Linked DNA regions of Homo sapiens: all the other regions are linked to region 4. Evidence: promoter capture Hi-C in human tissues and cell types (Jung and others, 2019). All regions are on one chromosome and are shown on one strand. Each heading gives the region's core, a stretch centred on a gene start or on the middle of the fragment in contact. The rest is flanking DNA. Distances are from core to core; before and after follow the strand shown.

Evidence for each region. The method cuts DNA at HindIII sites, captures the fragments that hold promoters and counts their contacts. A contact is called where the count stands out against the background at its distance.
Region 1: a contact is called between a fragment that was not itself captured here and the fragment with the promoter of WIPF3 in region 4, in 7 of the 25 tissues and cell types used here (H1 embryonic stem cells, bladder, heart right ventricle and 4 more).
Region 2: a fragment that was not itself captured here is called in contact with the fragment with the promoter of WIPF3 in region 4 in 5 of the 25 tissues and cell types used here (aorta, bladder, heart left ventricle and 2 more).
Region 3: a fragment that was not itself captured here is called in contact with the fragment with the promoter of WIPF3 in region 4 in 9 of the 25 tissues and cell types used here (aorta, bladder, heart left ventricle and 6 more).

What each region holds. Positions count from the first base shown.
Region 1 is chr7:29,742,828-29,746,009 of GRCh38, reverse strand. No RefSeq gene overlaps it. Among named protein-coding and RNA genes, the nearest start is that of MIR550A3HG, 59 kb to the right of the region's middle. The HindIII fragment of the contact is 4,556 bases long and covers 1-3,182 here.
Region 2 is chr7:29,760,606-29,763,575 of GRCh38, reverse strand. No RefSeq gene overlaps it. Among named protein-coding and RNA genes, the nearest start is that of WIPF3, 44 kb to the left of the region's middle. The HindIII fragment of the contact is 7,841 bases long and covers 1-2,970 here.
Region 3 is chr7:29,850,840-29,853,654 of GRCh38, reverse strand. The region is part of intron 2 of WIPF3 (WAS/WASL interacting protein family member 3); the gene reads right to left. Among named protein-coding and RNA genes, the nearest start is that of WIPF3, 46 kb to the right of the region's middle. The HindIII fragment of the contact is 3,067 bases long and covers 1-2,815 here.
Region 4 is chr7:29,805,051-29,808,164 of GRCh38, reverse strand. WIPF3 (WAS/WASL interacting protein family member 3) reads right to left here and starts at 1,657. Exons shown (of 9, transcript NM_001080529.3): 1 at 1,487-1,657. RefSeq lists an enhancer at 1,012-1,921. The HindIII fragment of the contact is 12,406 bases long and covers 1-3,114 here.

The DNA.
Region 1 (3,182 bases), core at 335-2,834, 62 kb after region 4:
TTTTGTTGTTAAAAAGCCATCATTTGTTCTTTCTTTTCACTGACTTAATACATGATTTTATTCTCAATCTAAAGCTTACAAGCCAGAGGTAAGGCTAAAACCCCTTATGGACACACACACAAACACGACTGCTGCCACACCAAACGCAGTCACTTCCCAGAGGTAGTCATGATATTAATTTTGTGCCGACCCTTCTAGATATTTTTCTATCCACTTATGTGTTACTGGCTCATTGATCAAGGGCAATTTGTGACATGATTAAACATGCTTTATTTTTCTTCCCTTCGTCTCTTCAGAACTTGTCTAGTGGGGGGTAATCATCTCTTGCCACTAGATGAAGAATAGGGCCATTCTAGAGGCTCTCTGGTCAGTCATAGGTGATGGACACTTCCACATTTTCTTCCGTCCATTTGGAAATTTTGAATATCCAATGTAAGGTATACAAGAAACCGTCCTATGCCAGAGGGGAAAAAACTGAGCCTAAATATGATCAAAACTGTAGATCAGTGGTTTTCAATGTTGGTTGCATACTGGGATCATCTGAGGTAGTTTAAAAAATTCCTGTGTCTCAGTTCCCCCCAGAGTCTCTGGTATAATTGCTCTTGGATTTGCCTGGGCTTCAGGGATATTTATTTAATTATTTATTTATTTATTTATTTATTTATTTAATTTTATTTTTTTGAGACCCAGTCTCACTCTGTTGCCCAGGCTGGAGTACAGAGGCGTGATCCCAGCTCACTGCAACCTCTGCCTCCCGGGTTCAAGTGATTCTCCTGCCTCAGCCTCCTGAGTAGCTGGGACTACAGGCACCCAGCAACACACCTGGCTAATTTTTGTGTTTTTAGTAGAGTTGGGGTTCCACCATGTTGGCCAGGCTGGTCTCGTACTCCTGACATCAGGTGATCCGCCCGCCTCGGCCTCCTGAAGTGCTGGGATTACAGGTGTGAGCCACCGTGCCCGGCCGGCTTCAGGGTTTTCAAGAGCTCCTCAGATAATTATAGTGGGCTACCTTTGAGAATCACTGCTCCGGATTTAACATCCAATTTATAGAAAATACATGGGAAAGCATAGAAGAACAGCATGGAGTGCAATAAGCAATAGCCACACTGGGACACGCTATAGGAGAAACACTCAGTTTCTTTATAAAAAGTTGTAAGAAAAAAAGATGAGGAGGAGAGAGGAACCTACAGGTTAAAAGTGACTTACAAGAAATTACTAATTGCAATGTGTGAAGAGATCTTTTTGGATCTTCAGGTGAACAAAGAAAACATATGAGAAGTTTTACACATCAAACAGGAATATTTGAACATTCAGTAGATATTTGATGTTAAGGGATTGTTTTTAATTTTGAGGCTACAATAATGTGGGGTTTTTTAAATTTTTGTTTTTTAAACTTTTATTTTAGGCTCATGGGTACATGTGCAGGTTTGTTATACAGGTAAACTCGTGTTATGGGGGTTTGTTGTACAGACTGTTTTATCACCCAGGTACTAAGCCTAGTACCCAGTGGTTATTTTTTTCTGCTCCTCTCCCTCCTCCCTACCTGAGACCTCGCATAGGCCTCGGTGTCTGTTGTTGTTTTATTTTTAAAACAGTTTTTCTCTTTCAGAGACATGTTGAAATAACTGAATGAAATATCTCCAGATTATATATCTGGGATTTACATGAAAAGAAGCCTATGAGAGGGAGGAGTGGGTGAGGGTGTAGATTAAAAAAAAATGATTGGCCTTGAGTTGATAATTGTTGAAGCTGGGCAATGGGTACATAGGGAACTCGGTATTCTGTTTCCTCTAGTTTTGTATGCTTAAACGTTTCCAAAATAAGAAGTTTTTCTGGAATGCTTAGTCCAAGATATTAATTAACAATGTAGTGCTTAAAGACAGAACATCTTTTTCCTGCTACAGAGTGCAGTCCTTGGCTGTCTGCTTTTGGGGAGACAGGTGTGACCATCTGTCTTGCTCCTTGCCCATCCCCACCGCCTCTCCCTTGCTGAGCGTTGCTTCCCAAGGCCAAGGCCAGAGGGCGGAGGAGACGTGGGCATTAGACCATTAGACAGCTCTCATCTACTGGATGGCCTTGGGCTCCCACCCTGGCTGGTTTTACAGCTGGCTTTTCCTGGGTTTGGTCACTTTGCTTGTGTTATGCATCAATTCTCTTCTCCCAAAAGACTTTTTTTTTTAACAGAGTCTCGCTCTGTTGCCCAGGCTGGAGTGCAGTAACATGATCTCAGCTCACTGCAGCCTCTGCCTCCCAGGTTCAAGCAATTCTTCTGCCTCAGCCTCCTCAGTAGCTGGAATTATAGGCGCCTGCCACCATGCCTAGATAATTTTTTGTATTTTTAGTAGAGATGGGGTTCACCATGTTGGCCAGGCTGGTCTCGAACTCCTGACCTCAGGTGATCCGCCCGCCTTGGCCTCTCAAAATGCTGGGATTACGGGCATGAGCCACTGTGGGCAGCCCCAAAAGACATGTTGAGCTTCTAACCCCAGTACCTGTGAATGTGCCTTTATTTAGAGAAGAGGTCTTTGCAGATGTAATCAAGATGAGGTCAGACTGGGTGTGGTGGCTCACACCTGTAATCCCATCACTTTGGGAGGCCGAGGCGGGCAGATCATTTGAGGTCAGGAGTTTGAGACCAGCCAGACCACCATGGTGAAACCCCATCTCTACTAAAAATTCAAAAATTACCCCAGTGTGATGGTGTGAGCCTGTAATCCCGGCTACTTGGGAGGCTGAGGCAGGAGAATCGCTTGAACCTGAGAGGCGGAGGTTGTGGTGAGCTGAGATGGTGCCACTGCACTCGAATGAGGTCATACTGGAATACGATGGGCCCTAAATCCTATGACTGGTGTCCTTACAAGCAGAGAAATTTGAGAACACAGAGGAGACACAGGTGAAATAAGGCCATGTGAAGACAGAGGCAGGGCTTGCATAAGCCAAGGAATGCCAAGGTTGGCAACCAAAGGAGTTAGAAGCAAGGAAAGATTATTCCCTAGAGACTTTAAATTCCCTAGAGAGCATGGCTCTGCTGACACCTTGATTTTGAACTTTGAGTCTGTAGAACTGTGAGACAAGTTTCTGTTGTTTTAAACCACCCAGTTTGTGGTACTTTCTTACAGTTGCCCTAAGAAACGAATACACTCGATCCAGACCTTCCCAGCTCTGGGGATGTCTCTTCTGCT
Region 2 (2,970 bases), core at 377-2,876, 45 kb after region 4:
TTCTATAAAGGGAAAAAAAGACTTTTTGTTAAGTATTTCTTCTGGCATAGTGTTCCAATCAAGTGAAAACTTAGCCATTGTTAGCAAGTCCTGGAAGAACAACAGTAGTTATTGTTTTAAATAGTCATCAAACAAGTCAAGACATTCCATCTGATTTGTTGGGTGGAGACTGGTTCAAGAAACACGTATCCTTATACCAAGAAAGGGAGAAAGGAATATGACTAGTTAATTAAAATGACACAAGGTCAAACTTTGTCCCAAGACCTCAGGATCTATCTGGAAATACATAATTCAAAGAGATTCCTGAAGTTGGGGTGCAAACTGAATAAGAAGAGACCTTATCCTTTTGAACTACAATTTTCCCTTTCTTGCTATACTTTCATTAATCATTGATTTGGTTAGAGTATCTTCAAATAATTTTTTTCCAAAAAATCTACAGTAGAGGTTTCTCATGAGTAGTTGAGCATCTATTCATTCAAAATATCTATTGAAGTCACCATATGGTGACTTTATCTTTACTCCTTCGACCTGAGAATACTTAAAGGGTGCAATACTACTTTTAGGCAATATATGCTCCACCTTAACATGGAATGTGGAAGCAAGAGGCCTCAAAATAACCCAATTATTTTTTGTTTTTGAGACAGGGTCTCACTCTGTCACCCAGGCTGGAGTGCAGTGGCACAATCATGGCTCACTACAGCCTCAAACTCCCAGGCTTGGGTGTTCCTCCCACCTCAGCCTTTTGAGTAGCTGGAACTACAGGCATGTGCCAAGCCTGGCTAATTTTTTGGTATTTTTTGTAGATATGGGATTTCGCCATGGCTTCCAGACTGATCTCAGACTCCTGGGCTCAAGCAATCTGCCCACATTGGCCTCCCAAAGTGCTGGGATTATAGGCGTGAGCCACTGTGCCCAGCCCCAATTTTTTTATTTTATTTTATTAATATTATTTTTAATCCATGACAGCAAAAACAGAGACATAAAGGGATTGTATTAGTTAAGGTTTTTCAGAGAAACAGAATCTCTCTCTCTCTCTCTATATATATATATATATACACATATACACTATATACTATATATACAGTATATATACACTATAGTATACTATATATAGTATATAATATATATGCTATACATATTATATACATACATATATATATATATATATATAAAAGTAGTATTGCACCCTTTAAGTATTCTCAGGTCGAAGGAGTAAAGATAAGGTCACCATATGGTGACTTCAATAAATATTTTGAATGAATAGATGCTCAACTACTCATAAGAGAAATCTCTACTGTAGATTTTTTGGAAAAAAAATTATTTGAAGATAGTCTAACCAAATCAACAATTAATGAAAGTTAGTTTAGCAAGAAAGGTATATATATATAATATATATATCTACCTTATAATATATATATAGTATATATAATATATATAGTATATATATAGTATTAACAGATACTGATGTTATGAAGAAAGATCTAGAGAAAAGTAACATTTGTCTCTGGATGATTTACTAAATTTTCCCAATTTAAAGACTCTATGATCATTTAATGTAAGTTTTGAAGATGCAAAATATCATTATTCAGAGAGAGAGAGAGAGAGATTATTATGAAAGATTGGCTCCTGAGATAATGGAAGCTGTGAAGTCCCATAATCTGCCATCTACAAACTGGAGGCCCAAGAAAGCCAGTGGTGTCATTTGTAGTTTGAGTCAAAACCTGAAGGGATAAGGGTCAGGTGAGAAAATAGTATAAATCCTGGTTCAAGTCTGAAGGCCTGAGAACCATGAGCACCAACATCTGGGAGCAGGAGAAGATGGATATCCCAGCTCGAGCAGAGAGCGAAGTTACTTTTTGTCATACTCAGGCCCTCAATGGATGGGATGATGCCCACTTGCGTTGGTGAGGGAGATCTTATCTTCTTTACTCAGTCTAAAGATTAAAATGCCAGTCTCTTGTGGAAACACCCTCACAGATACACCCATAAATGTTCTACCAGCTATCTGGGCATCCCTAGCCCAGTCAAATGAACACATACAATTAACCATCCTGGAGATATGCTGCACCAGCCTTTGTTGCTGTCTTCTGGGGCTGAGTTCAAGCTCCAAAGCATCCCTCTGGACAGATTTTGTCTTATTCAAACTTAAGGAGGACTAGGGCTAGACCCTGTTTCCCAACTGCCTCAGAAAGCTTTTTAGGCTTACTCCATGGTAAATGAATCCCTCTGTCAGGATTCAGGACTAATATTACTTTTAGTTGAGAGCCCTGGGTCACAATTTGTATGGATGTTTGCCTATTTGATTGGACTACACTGTGGATTTCTTTGTCAGACTACATGGATTGGACTTTTTTTTTTTTTTTTTTTTTGAGACAGGGTCTCATTCTGTTGCCCAGACTGGAGTGCAGTAACACTGTCTTGGCTCACTACAGCCTCAACCTCCCGGGCTCAAGTGATGTGCCCACCTCAGCCTCCAGATTAGCTGGGACTACAGGTATACAAAATAACATCTGGCTAATTTTTGTATTTTTTTTTTTTTTTGTATAGATGGGGTCTTTTCATGTTGCCCAGGCTAGACTTGAACTCCTGAACTCAAGCCATCTGCCCACCTTAGCCTTCTAAAGTGCTGACATTACAGGTGTGTGTCGCTGAGCCTGGCTGGACATTGTAAAATATCAGCCCAATGAAGGGGCACAGATGCCAAATGAACACCCACATTTTTTTTTTGCTACTGCAAAAGCTATAAAGTTACACTCCTAGGAGTTACCTGGTTTTACTGTGCTAGAAAAGATTTTTCTGTTGAAGTAGAATTACATACCAGGAGAGGTTAAATGTAGGCAAAGATTAAATGCCCATTATCTACCGATTCAACAGTACAGTTTGGCTGGTCAAAAAAGCTGGAGGTAGGGACTGGGCTTGATGCCTGACTGTGGATAACAAGGACTAAATAAAGAGGTGGTTGTATAATAG
Region 3 (2,815 bases), core at 62-2,561, 46 kb before region 4:
CTCAGGAATCTTAATCACCATGCTCTAAAAGAGCCTCTAAAAGAAGGGGCCACACCAGCCATGCAGGGCCCCTGTGTGAGAAACACTGTCAGAGAAGGCCATTGCTACTGGCCCTGTTGCTAGTCTCCTAATACTGACTGCCCTGGGGCTTTAGGGGATGCACTGTGGTGGAGGGGACAGAGGGCAGGGGATGGAGTCCTGTGGACTCTGAGCAAGCACTGGAGCTCACTGTGCCTGTTTCTTCCCCTATGAACCTGTCCCTGTGAGAAGCACAGCCATAGCAGATGCTGTGGGTCTCCCATGCACACCTGCTCAGCCTATTCCAGAGGATGACTTCACCTCCCCTCTGGGCTAGCTGCCTGTTGGACTCTGCCAGGGGAACTCCTAGAGGAGAAGGCACACCCCTGCAAGACAGATGGGGAAAGTGCCTGAGAGTCACAAGAGTTGGTGGAACGACTTGAGGCAGGCTCCACACAGTCTCTCCAGGATACAGCAGGGGTGCAGCCCCAGTTCCCCGTACACCCATTACTGGTTTTCCTCCCTCTTCTATTTCACTTCCTCACTCTCTTATCAGGGCATCCAGGAATCACCTCCCAAACAAACTACTTGCACCCAAAGCCTTGTCTCAGAATCTACTTTTAGGGGAGCCCAAAATTAGACCTTACCTGTCTCATGAAGGTGTTGAAAGATCCAGTGATATTCTATGGGGAGATGTTTTTTAATTTGTCACACTGCTGACAGCAAAATGTTAGAGGATTACTATTATGAATAATAACAGGAAGGTATGATTATAATTGCTGTGGAAAAGTCTCCCTGTCAATAAGTGACTTTGGACACACACTCCTTCCTTTTTCTAAACTTGTCCTCCCAACCTGAAACTCAGCCATCACCACTGGGTCTGTGTTAGAAATCCTGAGTTCAGGGTAGGGGGCAACTACATTTGGCAGCAAAGAGAACAAGTGGTTTCGCAATATGCACCTGTTTCTTGGGGAAGACATACAAGAAGTTCCAGCAGGTTGCATAGCCCTAGGGCTACTGCTCCAGGTGTCAAAGCAGTGAATCAGGGAACTGAGTGGTAAGATGATTCTTGTTGGTCTTGATTCTCTTGGTGTCTGGCTCTTGTTAAAGCAAGAATAATATGTCCTAATATAGCTGCCATATTTCAGTTCATTTCACTGAAGAACAAGGCTGTACATGATTTTGTATTTTAAAGAGTTTTCCTATGAAATCTCATTTTGTTCCTTCTATCCTCCTTAGGAAGCTGATGTGGTATGGTCATGGCACCTTCTACTTTTGGCCAGCCTCTCCCTGTTTTACTCTTGAGAACCCAGCCTTTGAAGAACATGTTTAAAGCTTTAGGCTAGGCATCGTGGCTCATGCCTATGCTTTGGGAGGCCAAGGCAGGAGGATTGCTTGACGCCAGGAGTTTGAAACCAGCCTGGGCAACAAAGCGAGACCTGTCTCTACAAAATAAATAAAAAATAAATTAGCTAGGCATGGTGTTGTGTGCCTGTAGTCTCAGCTATTTGGGAGGCTGAGGCAGGAGGACTGCTTGAGTCCAGTAGCTGGAGGCTGCAGTGAGCCATGATTGTACCACTGTACTGCAGCCTGGGTAACAAAGCAAGACTCCCATCTCAAAAATTAAAAATTAAAAAATTAAAAAAATAAAAATAAGTAAAATTAAAATAAAAAGCTTTAGAGGAGCCTTTCTCTTCAGGCATTGTCTAGCAACACTTTAAATGAAACAAAAGCAACATGAAACAAGAAAGAAAATCAATAGCACGCTCAAACCTCTCCCTATAGGACTGTCCCCACTGTGGGGCCTGAAGGGTGAAGGGCACAGAAATCCAAGGTTACCCAGAGGGCACTGATGAGGCAGATGTGAAAGAAGCTCAGCTCTCAGGGCACCCGTCTAGTCAGCCCAGCCTGCACCAGCATGCGGCCATGCAGCTGGTCTTGCCAATAGCCCTCACCATCTGTGCCAACAGCAGGAAAGAACGACATTGAACGTCATAAAGTCCACCGAGCCTTCCAGGTCCACTGCTTGACAATTGCTTTTATCTAAGCCAAACAGGCCAAGCCTGGCACTGTCAGTCACGGAAATTTTGTGTGCCTGGAACACAAAAGTATATTGTTACTTTGAATGTAAGTCAATGGTGAGGAGGGAGTGGTCTTGCATGACCCTGGTGAGGAGGAGCAGCCAGGGTTTTTCCCAGATGAGGGTCAGGATTTGATGATTCCATTGAAAAGATTCGGTCAAAAAAAGAAGAGGAGGTGGGCTAAAAAGTGACAACCCCAATAAGGTAAAGAGGAGCTGATGTGTGAACTTGCTTGTGGCCGAGCCAAGGAGAACATCGCAGACACCAGGAAGTGAGCTTCACATTCTGCTCTGCAGAGCCCTGGGGAAAGGGGGGTTCAATCTCCGTCCCCCACCTCCAGTCTCAGCACCCTCCTGAGGGCAGTCTCTCCTGGCACAGAAGCAGAAGGTGACATGGCCGGCAAGGTCGGGCCTGGCAAGAGCATAATACGACACAGGAGGGTTTGCTGTATTTCCAGAGAGGACAGTGCGAAACTCAGTGAGGCTGAGCACCATCCCGAGATGCCAAGGACTGGGGGAGAGGGGACTGCCACTGATATAACTGAACACTTAGTATGTTCCAGGATCTGTGCTGATGCTTTAAAGCATCATTGCAGTGAATTCCTTTACAACCCCATAAAGGTATTATTATTTCCATTTCACAGATGAGGAAAGTGAGGTCCAAAAGAATTGGCCCAGATATCAGAGATGACTAAACTCGGGAGCCAGGTCCACCTG
Region 4 (3,114 bases), core at 408-2,907:
TTTTCACTGAGGTAGAATTTACGTTAAGTGCACAAGTCTCAAGGGTATAACTTCAGTAATTCTTAGGTCAAGGTGAGAAGCATTTCTAGCATCCCAGAAGCCTCCCTCATGTCCTGTCCAGGTATTGACCTGGAGTTTATCTCCTTGCAAGGCCCAAAAACAACCTCTCCTCTGACCTCTTTCGTAATGATAAAGTTAAAAAAAATTGAAGGGAGGCAGGAGTCCCAGTGATAACTATTAATGCTGGGCACAAGAAGTGCACTCCCAGTCCTCCCTGTGAAGTGAGAAAAGATTCTGGAAAGGAGGAGGCGGAGGGGCACAAACCTTCTAAATCACACTGGTCATGCCAAACAAGGCCCTCATTTACAGCCAAGGACCCCAGGCACAGAGGCGAAGAGACAGCCTAACTTCCTGCTACAGAGTAACTTTCCTCCCCAATACAGCCAGTTACAAAGCGCCCTGAGTGTCAGGGATTGGCCACACTGTCCCAGGGCGCATGGAACCGCTCTCCTGGCCTTTCCCTGCAGAAACTTCTTTCCAGAGGGAGGCGCACACACGGTCCCCACGCCGCCCCGGCGCCCGCCACGGGCACACCCACGCGGCTGGCACGCCACCCTCCAAAGGCGCTGTTCCTGAGAGCCGGTGCCTGCCTGCCCACGGGGCCCGGGCGGCGCTCCTCCAGGTCCAGGGCGGCCGGGTGCCCGCCCTCCCCGCCACCTTCAGAGAGTGCGTGTCAGGGGCTGGGGGAAATCTGCTCTGCCACCTACCTACCCACCACCTAATCCTCCAAAGGACCCTAAACCCATTTGTGGCCAAATGTACATTGCTGGAGCACAGTCTGACTACTGACCCCAGGGGCTTGGAGATGAGCACGGGAGGGGTGTCCAGAGACCTGCGCTCTGTCCCCATGAGCTGTGTGACCTTGGACAAGTCACTTCACATCTCTGGAGTTGGCTTCCTCACTAGGGGGCTCCTTCTGTATTCCCCAAGCCACCTCCGGCTCTGCAATTTCCTAGCTCTCTTTTACTCCGCCCCAGCCCTTCCCGCGACAGCCCCCTCCCCAGCGAGACCCCAGCCTTTTGTTCCGGGGGCGAAGCGGAGAAGAGAGAGCGTCGCGAAGGACCAGGCCGAGGCGGCCTCGGTGCCAGGGGCTGCTCACCGGGGAGTCCAGTCCGGAGAAGTCACCAAGCAACCCCGTGGTGACCTCGCTCCCCACCCCGCGGTTTGTTTCCGCCCGGCCCGGCCCGGCCCGGCCGGGGCGGCGTGGCAGGGTGCGGGTGGGGGGCGTGAGCGCCGCGCGGCACGTCGACAACCTCCTGGGCCCGGGGCTGCAGCCCGGCGGGGGTTCCCCGGCCCTCCCACGCCCTCAGGATCTCTGTCCCGGGCCGGGCCACTCTGCTCCGGGACCGACCAGGGCGGCGGCCGCCACACCGCCCGTTCCTTCCACCCTCGGGCACCGACCCGCACCCGCGCGGGAAGCCGCTACCTGCAGGTGGCGGAGCCGGGGGCTGGACTGGACTCGAGCTCCGGCCGACGTCTCCGCCGCCGCCGCCTCCGGCTCCGGGCTCCGTCCCGCAGCGCCCGTGCTCCAAGCGGCGCCGCTACCGCCGAGCTGCGCTCGGTGCGCCCGGCTCGCTCCCCGGCCACCGGCTCTGGTGCTGCCGGGACGCGGAGGCGGGGCCGCCGCCCCCACCTGCTCGCAGGCTCCTGCCTGGGAGCCGCCGCCGCCCCGCGGCAGGGACACGGCCCCGGCGGGCGGGGTCGCTCTGGGACCCTGGAGGCGGGTCCCAAGTCGGCGGGCGCGCCTCCCGGGTACAGAGTCCCAAGTCTCAGCTGCGGAGAGACTGAGGCCTAAGGCTGGAATTCCCCAAATAGGAGCTGTTGCGCGGGCGGCACACGGCCCAGCACAGCTACTCTGGGGACACGCCACTCCTTGAATTTATTCCAAAATGTTGAGCCCTTACTAAGCTCCAGGCGGTGTCATAAGCGATGGGGACGAGAGAACAAGATTACCTCTTGCCCTCGTGGAGTTCACAGTCTAGAAAAGGAAAGCGACCAATGGGCGATTACAGCACAACCAAGAGGAGGCAGAGGCCTCCTGAGCCGGCTCCCAGAGGGAGCACCTGATCTAAACTTGGGGTGGGGAGTAGGTCAGGGAGGGCTTCTTGAGGAGCTGACGTCGACGAGAAAAACTGAAGACTGAGTGTGAATTAGCCAGGTGATGAGAGAATTATCCGGGTAGCCTGGGGAGGTAGATTGATGTCCCAGGTAGAGTCGAAGGGAGGAGAAAGCAGACTGAAAACTGAAATAGGGCCGGGCGCGGTGGCTCAAGCCTGGAATCCAAGGACTTTGGGAGGCCGAGGTGGACGGATCACTTGAGGTCAGGAGTTACTAGCCTGGCCAACATGGTGAAGCCCTGTCTCTACCAAAAAATACAAAAGTTAGCCGGGTGTGGTGGCGCTCTCTAGTCCTAGCTACTCGGGAGGCTGAGGTGGAAGGATCTCTTGAACCCAGGAGGCAAAAGTTGCAATGAACCACTGCACTCCAGCCTGGGCGATAGAGTGAGACCCTGTCTCAAAAAACCAAACCAAACCAAACAAAGAAACAAACAAAAACAAACCTGAAATAAGCTTGAAGAACGGAAAACCTTGCTTCTGTCACATTTCTTGTTCAGGCCCTTGGAGGATGCAGAAAGTTTGTGTCCGAGGCTGAATGCATTGCTGTAGGTGCTGAGATCATTGGGTGAGGATTCTGTATTGCCCATGTCCTGGGCATTCCTGCTAGTGGAGGAGCTAAGCGGGTACTCGTGGACTGTTCACTCAGCCTCGGTGTTTGAGTATCTGCCATGAGCCAGACACTCTGCAGGGCCTCAGGGCAAGGTGTCTAACTCTAAAGTTGCTGCTGGTCTGGAATAGAGGAGAAACCTGGCGCTCAGCGCTGTGCTGAGGCTTGTGTGAAATGTTGGGGACCCAGGTGAGGGAGCAGCCAATGCCAGCAGGGAAGATCTCACACGTGGATTGCAGCCTGTATTCAGGTTCAAGTTCTGTAGTGGCTGCTGTCAAAGTATGTTCCCCAAGCAGCCCTTAGCTGATCTCTTAATTACTCATGTTTGTA